3 separate regions of the Homo sapiens genome follow, and all the other regions are linked to region 3. The links are contacts of gene promoters, found by promoter capture Hi-C in blood cells and fetal thymus (Javierre and others, 2016). All regions are on one chromosome and are shown on one strand. Each heading gives the region's core, a stretch centred on a gene start or on the middle of the fragment in contact. The rest is flanking DNA. Distances are from core to core; before and after follow the strand shown. Region 1 overlaps SOS2 (SOS Ras/Rho guanine nucleotide exchange factor 2). Region 2 overlaps SOS2 (SOS Ras/Rho guanine nucleotide exchange factor 2). Region 3 holds the start of KLHDC2 (kelch domain containing 2).

The links. Contacts are between HindIII fragments. The CHiCAGO score rates a contact against its expected background, and 5 or more counts as called.
Region 1: a contact is called between a fragment that was not itself captured here and the fragment with the promoter of KLHDC2 in region 3, in 1 of 17 cell types (total B cells). The highest score is 5.3, in total B cells.
Region 2: a fragment that was not itself captured here is called in contact with the fragment with the promoter of KLHDC2 in region 3 in 2 of 17 cell types (naive CD4 T cells and fetal thymus); the score reaches 5.8 in naive CD4 T cells.

Annotation. Positions count from the first base shown.
Region 1 is chr14:50,176,494-50,179,481 of GRCh38, reverse strand. The region is part of intron 7 of SOS2 (SOS Ras/Rho guanine nucleotide exchange factor 2); the gene reads left to right. Among named protein-coding and RNA genes, the nearest start is that of SOS2, 54 kb to the left of the region's middle. The HindIII fragment of the contact is 5,834 bases long and covers 1-2,988 here.
Region 2 is chr14:50,128,752-50,131,482 of GRCh38, reverse strand. SOS2 (SOS Ras/Rho guanine nucleotide exchange factor 2) reads left to right here. Exons shown (of 23, transcript NM_006939.4): 20 at 721-982; 21 at 1,481-1,522. Among named protein-coding and RNA genes, the nearest start is that of VCPKMT, 14 kb to the right of the region's middle. The HindIII fragment of the contact is 830 bases long and covers 848-1,677 here.
Region 3 is chr14:49,766,680-49,769,518 of GRCh38, reverse strand. KLHDC2 (kelch domain containing 2) reads right to left here and starts at 1,366. Exons shown (of 13, transcript NM_014315.3): 1 at 898-1,366. The coding sequence starts at 1,050. RefSeq lists silencers at 1,137-1,316, 1,487-1,566, 1,907-1,966. The HindIII fragment of the contact is 13,494 bases long and covers 1-2,839 here.

The DNA.
Region 1 (2,988 bases), core at 113-2,612, 410 kb before region 3:
GCCTGGGAGGTCAAGGCTGCAATGAGTCATGATCACGCCACTGCACTCCAGCCTTGGGTACAGAGTGAGACCCAGTCTCAAAAAAAATAAAAATAAAAAATAAACTGGCTTTTACCCCTTGACGTTTGAATATGGTAAAAATCCTTATAGTCCTGAAACAAACAAGCAAACAAATGAACAAACCTTTCTTCACTCTAGTAGAATAATTAACTAGAGTGAAGAAAGTTTTTTCATTTCCTCTCTCATTTTTTCTTTGCAGCCAATTGTCTTTATATTATTTTTTACCATTCTTTATGAAAACACTACCATGTATGTTTTAATCAGGATATAAATTGCCTTTGACAAGTAACTTAATTGCCAAATCCAGTGGATATTTTTATTTCATACTTAATGTCTGTAGTATTTGTTACTGCTCTTATCTCTTGGTTCCTGTATACCTGAAGGCTGGGCGTGATGTCTCATGCCTGTAATCCCAGCACTTTGGGAGGCTGAGGTGGGTGGATCGGATCACCTGAGGTCAGGAGTTCCAGACCAGCCTTGCCAGCCTGGCGAAACCCTGTCTCTACTAAAAAATGCAAAAATTAGCTGGGTGTGGTGGCATGCACCTGTAATCCCAGCTACTCGGGAGGCTGAGGCAGGAGAATTGCTTGAACCCGGGAGGCGGAGGTTGCAGTGAGCCGAGATCGTGCCACTACACTCCAGCCTAGGTGACAGAGCAAGACCCTGTCTCCAAAAAATATATATATATATATGTGTGTGTATATGTGTGTATATATATATATATATATATATATATATATATATATATATGCACACACACACACACACACACACTAGCGGGCATGGTGGTGCACACCTGTAGTTCTAGCTACTACAGAGGCAGAGGCAGGAGGATCACTTGGAGGCAGGAGGATCACTTGAACCCAGGAGGTGGGGGTTGCAGTGAGCCGAGATTGCAACACTGCACTCAAGCCTGGGCTACAGAGTGAGACTCTGTCTCAACAAAAAAAAGAAAAAGAAGACTGAGACTGGGTGATTTATAAAGAAAAGAGATTTAATTGGCTCAGAGTTCCACAGGCTCTACAGGAAGCACGGCTGGGGAGGCCTCAGGAAACTTACGATCATGGCGGAAGCCAAAAGGGAAGCAGGCACGTCTTCACATGGTCAAAGCAAGAGGAAGGAGCAGGGAGGTGCCACACACTTTTAAACAACTAGATCTCCTGAGAACTCTATTACAAGAACAGCATTAAAGGAAGAAATCCACCCCCATGATCCAGTTACCTCCCACTAGGCCCCACCTCCAAAATTGGGGATTACAGTTGAACATGAGATTTGGACGGGGACACAAAATCAAACCATATCAGCTCCTGTGATACTACATGTTCCCAATTTTCGTCTTCTCTGATTTCTTCTTCTAAGTCTCTTAATTATTATAGCTATTATCCAACTTCTGTTATCAGCCCCTGTTTTTCTGTTCTGTGCTCTCCTTGGGTGACTTCATGTCTATATACTGGTGACTTCTTATTTGTATTTCCAGGCCATCACTTTCTTTTAAGCACTGTGTACCGTGTACATATGTGTATGTATCTATACACTTTCATATAACCAGCTGCCTTGAATTGATGCACTTGGATACCCTAAACGCACTTCAAATATGACATGTTTAAAACTGAACTTACCATCTTCTCCCTGCCTTCTGTACTATAAATTCCCATTGTTTATTATCTTCCACTTCTCTATTGTCAAAAATTTGTTATCATGGAATACAAATTATACTTAATTCTCAAAATTACTTCAAGAGAGGAATATTTTTAAAGTTAACTCATATATTCATATAAAGTATGCATTAAATACACAGTCTATAAGAACTTTGGATACTCATTAAAAGCACTCAACACATTTCTTGTTTCAGTCCTATTTTATTAGGAATTTTTGCTGTGGAATTTGAATGTTAAAGGGCCCAGTTATTAATAAAGCTGTCATCCTAGATATTCAGTGAAATTGGAAGAGTTAGATGAAATCCTTTTTCGGGCCAAACTCAATTGTTTTAACTTAAAAAAAAATTCATTCAGTTTAAGATAAAATAATGCTTCCTTAATAAAACTAAAAACAAAAAGCATCTTTAGAAGCTGTGTAGCGTACTTTATTTATTTATTTATTTAGAGACAGGGTCTCACTCTGTTGCCCAGGCTGGAGTGCAGTGGCACAGTCTCAGTTCATTGCAACCTCCGCCTCCCGGGTTAAAGCGATTCTCCTGCCTTAGCCTCTTGAGTGACTGAGACTACAAGTGTGGACCACCACGCCTGGCTAATTTTGGTATTTTTTTGGTAGAGACAGAGTTTCACCATATTGGCTAGGCTGTTCTGTTGACCATGAGGCACCATACCTGGACTGTGTAGCAGACTTAAAAAAATAAGATTTGAAGTTAGAACTTAAGGCTTTGGGCCAATTAATAGTTTTGTTTGTTTGTTTGCGGCGGAATCTCGCTCTTTCACCCAGGCTGGAGTGCAGTGGCGCGATCTTGGCTCACTGCAACCTCTGCCTCTTGGGTTTAAGGAGTCCTCCTGCCTCAGCCTCCTAAGTAGCTGGGACTACAGGCGCATGCCACCACACCTGGCTAATTTTTGTATTTTTAGTAGAGATGGGGTTTCCCCATGTTGGCCAGGCTGTTCTCAAACTCTTGACTTCAGGTAATCCTCCTGACTCAGCCTCCCAAAGTGCTGGGATTACAGGCGTGAGCCATCACGCCCAGCCCCAGTTAATGGTTGTGTTACCTTGAGCAATTCACTTAATCTCTGAGACTCAGTTTGCTCATTTGTAAAATGGTGATCATCATAATATATACCTCTTATAGTTATTAGGAAATTAAATGGTAATGTATATATAAAGCATAAGCATAATGTTTGATGTGTATTAAATACTCAAATGTAGCTCCTGTTATTATCAGAGGACTCCTTACACTGTAAATACATGCTACAAAAATTTTAG
Region 2 (2,731 bases), core at 13-2,512, 360 kb before region 3:
AAAGTCATGCATAGTTATTTCATAATAGACATTTGCCATGCACTTTTTGAAAACCCCTCATAGATCTTATTCTCATTTTACAAAGGAAAATAGTGAGATTCCAAGGGGTTAAATAAGTTTTTCAAGGCTGCATAGCTAGATATTGGCACAGTTGAGATCTTAACTCAAGTTTTCTGATCTGAGTTCTGTGTTTTTTATTTGATTACTCCTGCCAGAACTTGAAAAATGGGACAGAGGTGATGGTGGGAGACAATGATAGGAATTTTCTCCAAAGATTTTTAAAGCATCAATGTAGAGGTTGATCATTTAGTATAGGAAGGGGAAAAAATGATCTTTTTTTTTTCTGAAGCATATAGCATAATATGTTTCATAAATTATGTTCCCAGTAAATGTTTGTAAAATCTATATAGATATTTTCAAAGAGAAGTTTAGGTTCATATGTTTTAGGAGTAAAATGTGATTTTCACATAAAATTTCAAGAATTTTATTTCTGCAGTGCTGAAAAGAGACTTACTTATATTCCAATTCATTTTAAAATTAAGCCAGTCAAATCCAGAAGATTCTACTAGAATGATACAGGCTGTCATTGCAGACTGAAGGACTGCACGCTTAAGAACTGTATGCTTAAGAACTAATAAGACTAATAAGGTAGCTCTAAGTCACAGAAACAAATTGTTGTCTATGCAAATTTGTGACATTAATTATGTTTGCTTTTCTCAGCCTAGGAAATCAACTTTTTCCTTAAAATCTCCTGGAATAAGGCCTAACACAGGCCGACATGGCTCTACCTCAGGTACTTTACGAGGTCACCCAACACCATTAGAAAGAGAACCATGTAAAATAAGCTTTAGTCGGATTGCTGAAACTGAGCTGGAATCAACAGTGTCAGCACCAACCTCTCCAAATACACCATCTACTCCACCAGTATCTGCTTCTTCAGACCTTAGTGTATTTTTAGATGTGGATCTCAACAGCTCCTGTGGTAAGTATTTGATGTAAACCGCTTGGTAAAAAAGGAATCCTGTGTCTCAGATAATTCTTATCATTTTAATTAGGGAACTATAGAATCCTTTGCAAACTATATTAGTGTGAAAAGTGATATCTAAATGTGAAAATAATGATTAATACAAGAAGTAGAGCATAATTTGTGCATTGTTGATGCATATTATCTTCTAATTTACTCATTCAACAAAGATTTGTTTAGTACCTTTTGGGTCCCACTACCAGTCTAAAGGGAGCAATAGATGATGAATAAGAAAACAAATAGATAAGTTCTGTGATAGAGGGGGAACCACTTAATGCTAAGAAGGAAAACCATTCTAGATACAGAAGGTTCTGAGTTAATTTTTTAAAAAACTAACATGGCAAAAGATGATGATAAAATTCTGCACTGTGTATTACGTATTATTTATGGAAACATTTAAAAAATAATACCTACATGTTACCTTCCTTTTCAAATTAATTTTTCTTATTCCAATAGGCAGCAATAGCATCTTTGCTCCAGTGCTTTTGCCACATTCAAGTAAGTATAATTTAAGTTGATTCTTAATGAAATGACTGTAAAGATAATAATCTGGTTGATTATATTTGAGTATTTTGAGTTTTGGCAATATTAAAGAACAAGAAAAGTTATAAATAAATTTAATTATTTGCTTACAACTGTGTACTACTTAAGCTTCACTATAGTTTATTTTCATCATTTTTTATGATCTGTTCTAAGGGCTGTATGGCCTTGAAGAAATTACTTACCTTCCCCACACTTGTTAAGGATTAAATGAAATAACTGTATAGAACACCTAGCCGGGTGTGGTGGCTCACGCCTGTAATCCCAGCACTTTGGGAGGCCAAGGCAGGTGGATCACGAGGTCAGGAGTTCAAGACCAGCCTGGCCAACATAGTGAAACTCTGTCTCTACTAAAAAATTACAAAAATTAGCCGGATATGGTGGTGCACGCCTGTAGTCCCAGCTACTCAGGAGGCTGAGGCAGGAGAATCACTTGAACCCAGGAAGCAGAGGTTGTGGTGAGCTGAGATCAGGCCACCACACTCCAGCCTGGGCAACGGAGTGAGACTCCATCTCAAAAAAAGAAAACAACAAAACAAACAAACAAAAAAACACCATCTAAAATATTGCTTGGCATAGAATGAATAGTAATTTCATGTCAGTTGTCTTTCTTCCTTACCCTTTTCAAATCATTTTCCCATGGCAATAATATAGTAAATGTTTATCAGGTTCCCGGGATATCCTCAGTCACTTATTTTTTTTTACATCATCTTATTTAATTAAAGCAGTAAATTTTAAGTAAAGCACTATTCTATCATTCCTAATTATTTCATAATTTATAACTTTTAATGCTGTAAACTTTCTTTCTGTGGTCATTTGTTTAAAACAAAATAACTCAAAAATGAACACAGCACCTTTGGGTATAATTCTCTCAATCTGGAGAACATCTGCTTCGAGCATAGTAAAATATATAGTAGCAAGTTTCCCTATCTTATGAGAAAAATAAGCTTAGTCTTTTAAATGTTTAATTTTATATTTTAGGTTAAAAAATTTTTATCTGGCCAGGCACAGTGGCTCATACCTGTAATCCTACCACTTTGGGAGGCTGAGGCAGGAGTATCACTTGAGGTCAGGGCAACATAGCAGTTCAAGACTAGCCTGGGCAACATAGCAAGACCCTGTCCTCCCTACCAAAAAAAAATTTATCAAAGTGACATATTAATAGAA
Region 3 (2,839 bases), core at 117-2,616:
ATGGTCAACTATGATCAAGTCAGCTGTACCATAAGCTAAAAACAATCACAAAGCAAGTCATCCAAGGCACGGGCGTGGGGAGGGCGGAGAACATTTTCAAGACCAAAGAGGAATTTTGTGGTAGGACTGGCTCAGAGCCATCCTAGCAAATAAAATTCTAGATTTCCGAGGTTAGCAGGGTAAAGAATGGCAACTGGCTTTAAACTGCTAACTAATCACGTTGTTTATAACCAGGGGATCGGAGAGTCAAAGAGCTGCACTCTGTAGTTCATTTGATGCTGGGGATTTTTTGGTTACTGGTGGAGCTTTTCCATTATCTTAATAGGGGTGTCTGCTGAAAAACTTCAACCCAGCTGAAGCCAGAAGGAAAACAGTCCTGATGGCCATTTGCACAGGCGGGAAGGCTGAATAAGGTGGTTCCTGTAACCTTTTGGAATTCCAGTTTTCCTACACCTCGGCCTCCCTGTAAGTGGGCAGCGGTTCCCAGCTCCAGAGGGTGAAGTCCTCGTAGGCCGTCCTCATAACGCGTCTGAGTGATATCACACACCGTCACCTTTCACACCCCAACCCTTCCGAATGCACCGCCCAAGCAACATTAACAGGGCCTTCCCCGGAATAACGCTCCAATGGCAACAACGGGGGTGGGAGTGAGTTGGCTTTGTGAGCACCAGGGTGACATGACAGCAGCCCTGGAGGTTCGAGACGGGTTGGGGTACTCGAGAGAAGGAAGATTCCCGCGCGCAAAAAAAAAACAACCAACGGGCAGAGTCTGAGGTGGGGCGCGCGACGCAGGCGGGGAGCGCCCTCGGCGGCCCGCTCTGGCCTCCCCGCCTGGCCGCGAACGCAGACCCGAGTCACAGCCGAGCGACGTCCGTCGCGGCCCGGCCACTCACTGACCTTGTAGCCGCCCCAGACGAACATGTGGCGCCCGTCGCTGACGGCTACGTGGCCGCTGCGCTCAGCGGGGCAGGCAAGCTCCATGGACTCATAGCTCTCGAAGGCTGGCCCAGGCAAGTCGTCAGCCCGCAGATCCTCGTTGCCATCAGCCATCTTGAGGCTGCACTTTTGCTAACCAACAATGCCCACACCCGCGAGGGGCCAAAAAAACAAAGGAAAAGGAGAGAAATGCACAGCGGCGCGAGGCAAGGAAAAGGCGGTGGCGAAAGGGACGGCGTTGAGGCCTCTCTGCCGCCTGCGCTCGCGTTTCCCAGCCTCCTCGGCCGAGGACGGCTCTCCGCCGCCGCCGGGGCACGCCTGCAGACAGAGGGGCCGCGAGCGGAGCCGGGCGGCGGCGGCGCGGGCCCGGGACTCGGGGCACTGCAGGGAAGCGGTCCGCGTCGGGCCGGCTCCCTATTGCAGCCCGTCTGCCCCGCCTCCTGCAGTCCACGGCCTTGTTTACGCCGCGGCCGGAAGCCGCCCGTTCCGCTGACGCCGCCCGCCGAGCTCCGGAAGCGAGGCTGCCGCTCAGCGCCCCCAGCGCCGGGTCCTCCAGCCGCCGCCGCCGCCGCCGCCGCCTCTGCCCGCGCCTCCGCCTACGGCCTGGGCACCGCAGATCTATGGGGCCCGGCGACTTCTAGTCGCGCTTCGAGTCTCCTTTCACTGAGGGAACCACAGGGATAATGTCCTGAATCGGTCCCTGAAAGCTGCTGAATTTTAGCCGGATTGCCGCAATTTTTTTTTTCTTCCCGAGGATTTCTATTCGTTTGATTGAGGGATGATCTCAGAGGGTTCACAGCCCGGGCAGGGGCACCAGAATTGCTCCACTAGCAAGTTTCTGGTCTCGCCTTAGAGTCGATGCAGGCCCTGCTGTTCTGCGGGCGCGAGGGCAGTCGCTTAGCTCTCACGTGGGGCCCAGCCCGATCCCCGGGGGCCTCTCCTGAGCTCCTGCCGCCCCTGCCGGGCGCCGCCTCTGCGGGAATCTGACGTTGCCGCCGCCGCCGCTGCCGCCGCCAGCCGGGCTGCAGAGTTGGCTTGAAAAGCGTTTCCGAAGCCGTAACCACCCTTTTCTTCAGAAAGAAAGGCGGATCCTTTTCACGCACACACAGCTTTCTCTTATATGATACCTTTCAATTGGGCCAAAAGAAAATTACGAGTTACTGTGCTTGATACCTCACCTGTAAAATAGGGTGGGACAAAAATAATCTTAAATTCTTGATCTTACAGTGCCTGTAGAATTTATCGTGTTTGGTAGGAGGGACGTGCTTCATTATCTCCATTTCCCTCATCTTCTGGTTGGGAGCACTCCATAGAAAAGGAACACTTTGAACAATAAAAGGCTTTTTTTTTTTAATTATTAAAATGCTTATAGCCTGCCACTCCTCCCCTAGTGTGCCAGTGTGTTTACTTGAACTCAAGAACTTGAAAGTTACTTAAGAGGATTAATTAAAGCCTTCAACAAGGAAGCAAATCACCTTGAGGCTGTTAAGACCTTATCTGCCATCCACCCTGGTTGGTGCCCTCAAATCTGTCTGGTTCACAGAATTCCTTGCAGCAGTGTCTTCTCCCAGTCGAATTATGCTCACTAGACTTTGGGGTTATCGAAGTTCCTTGTGAACCAACCTCGTGAATCTGATCGAGTCACTTAAAAACCTTGAGCTGGCTCCCGTCGTCCTTAGTAGAATCCAAAATTAATATCTCGGCTGGGCGCGGTGGCTCACGCCTGTAATCCCAACACTTTGGAAGGCCGAGGCAGGCGGATCACCTGAGGCCAGGAGTTCGAGACCAGCCTGGCCAAAATGGCGAAACTCTGTCTCTACTGAAAATACAAAAAAATTACACAGGCTTGGTGGCCGGCGCCTGTAATCCCAGCTACTTGGGAGGCTCAGGCAGGAGAAACTCT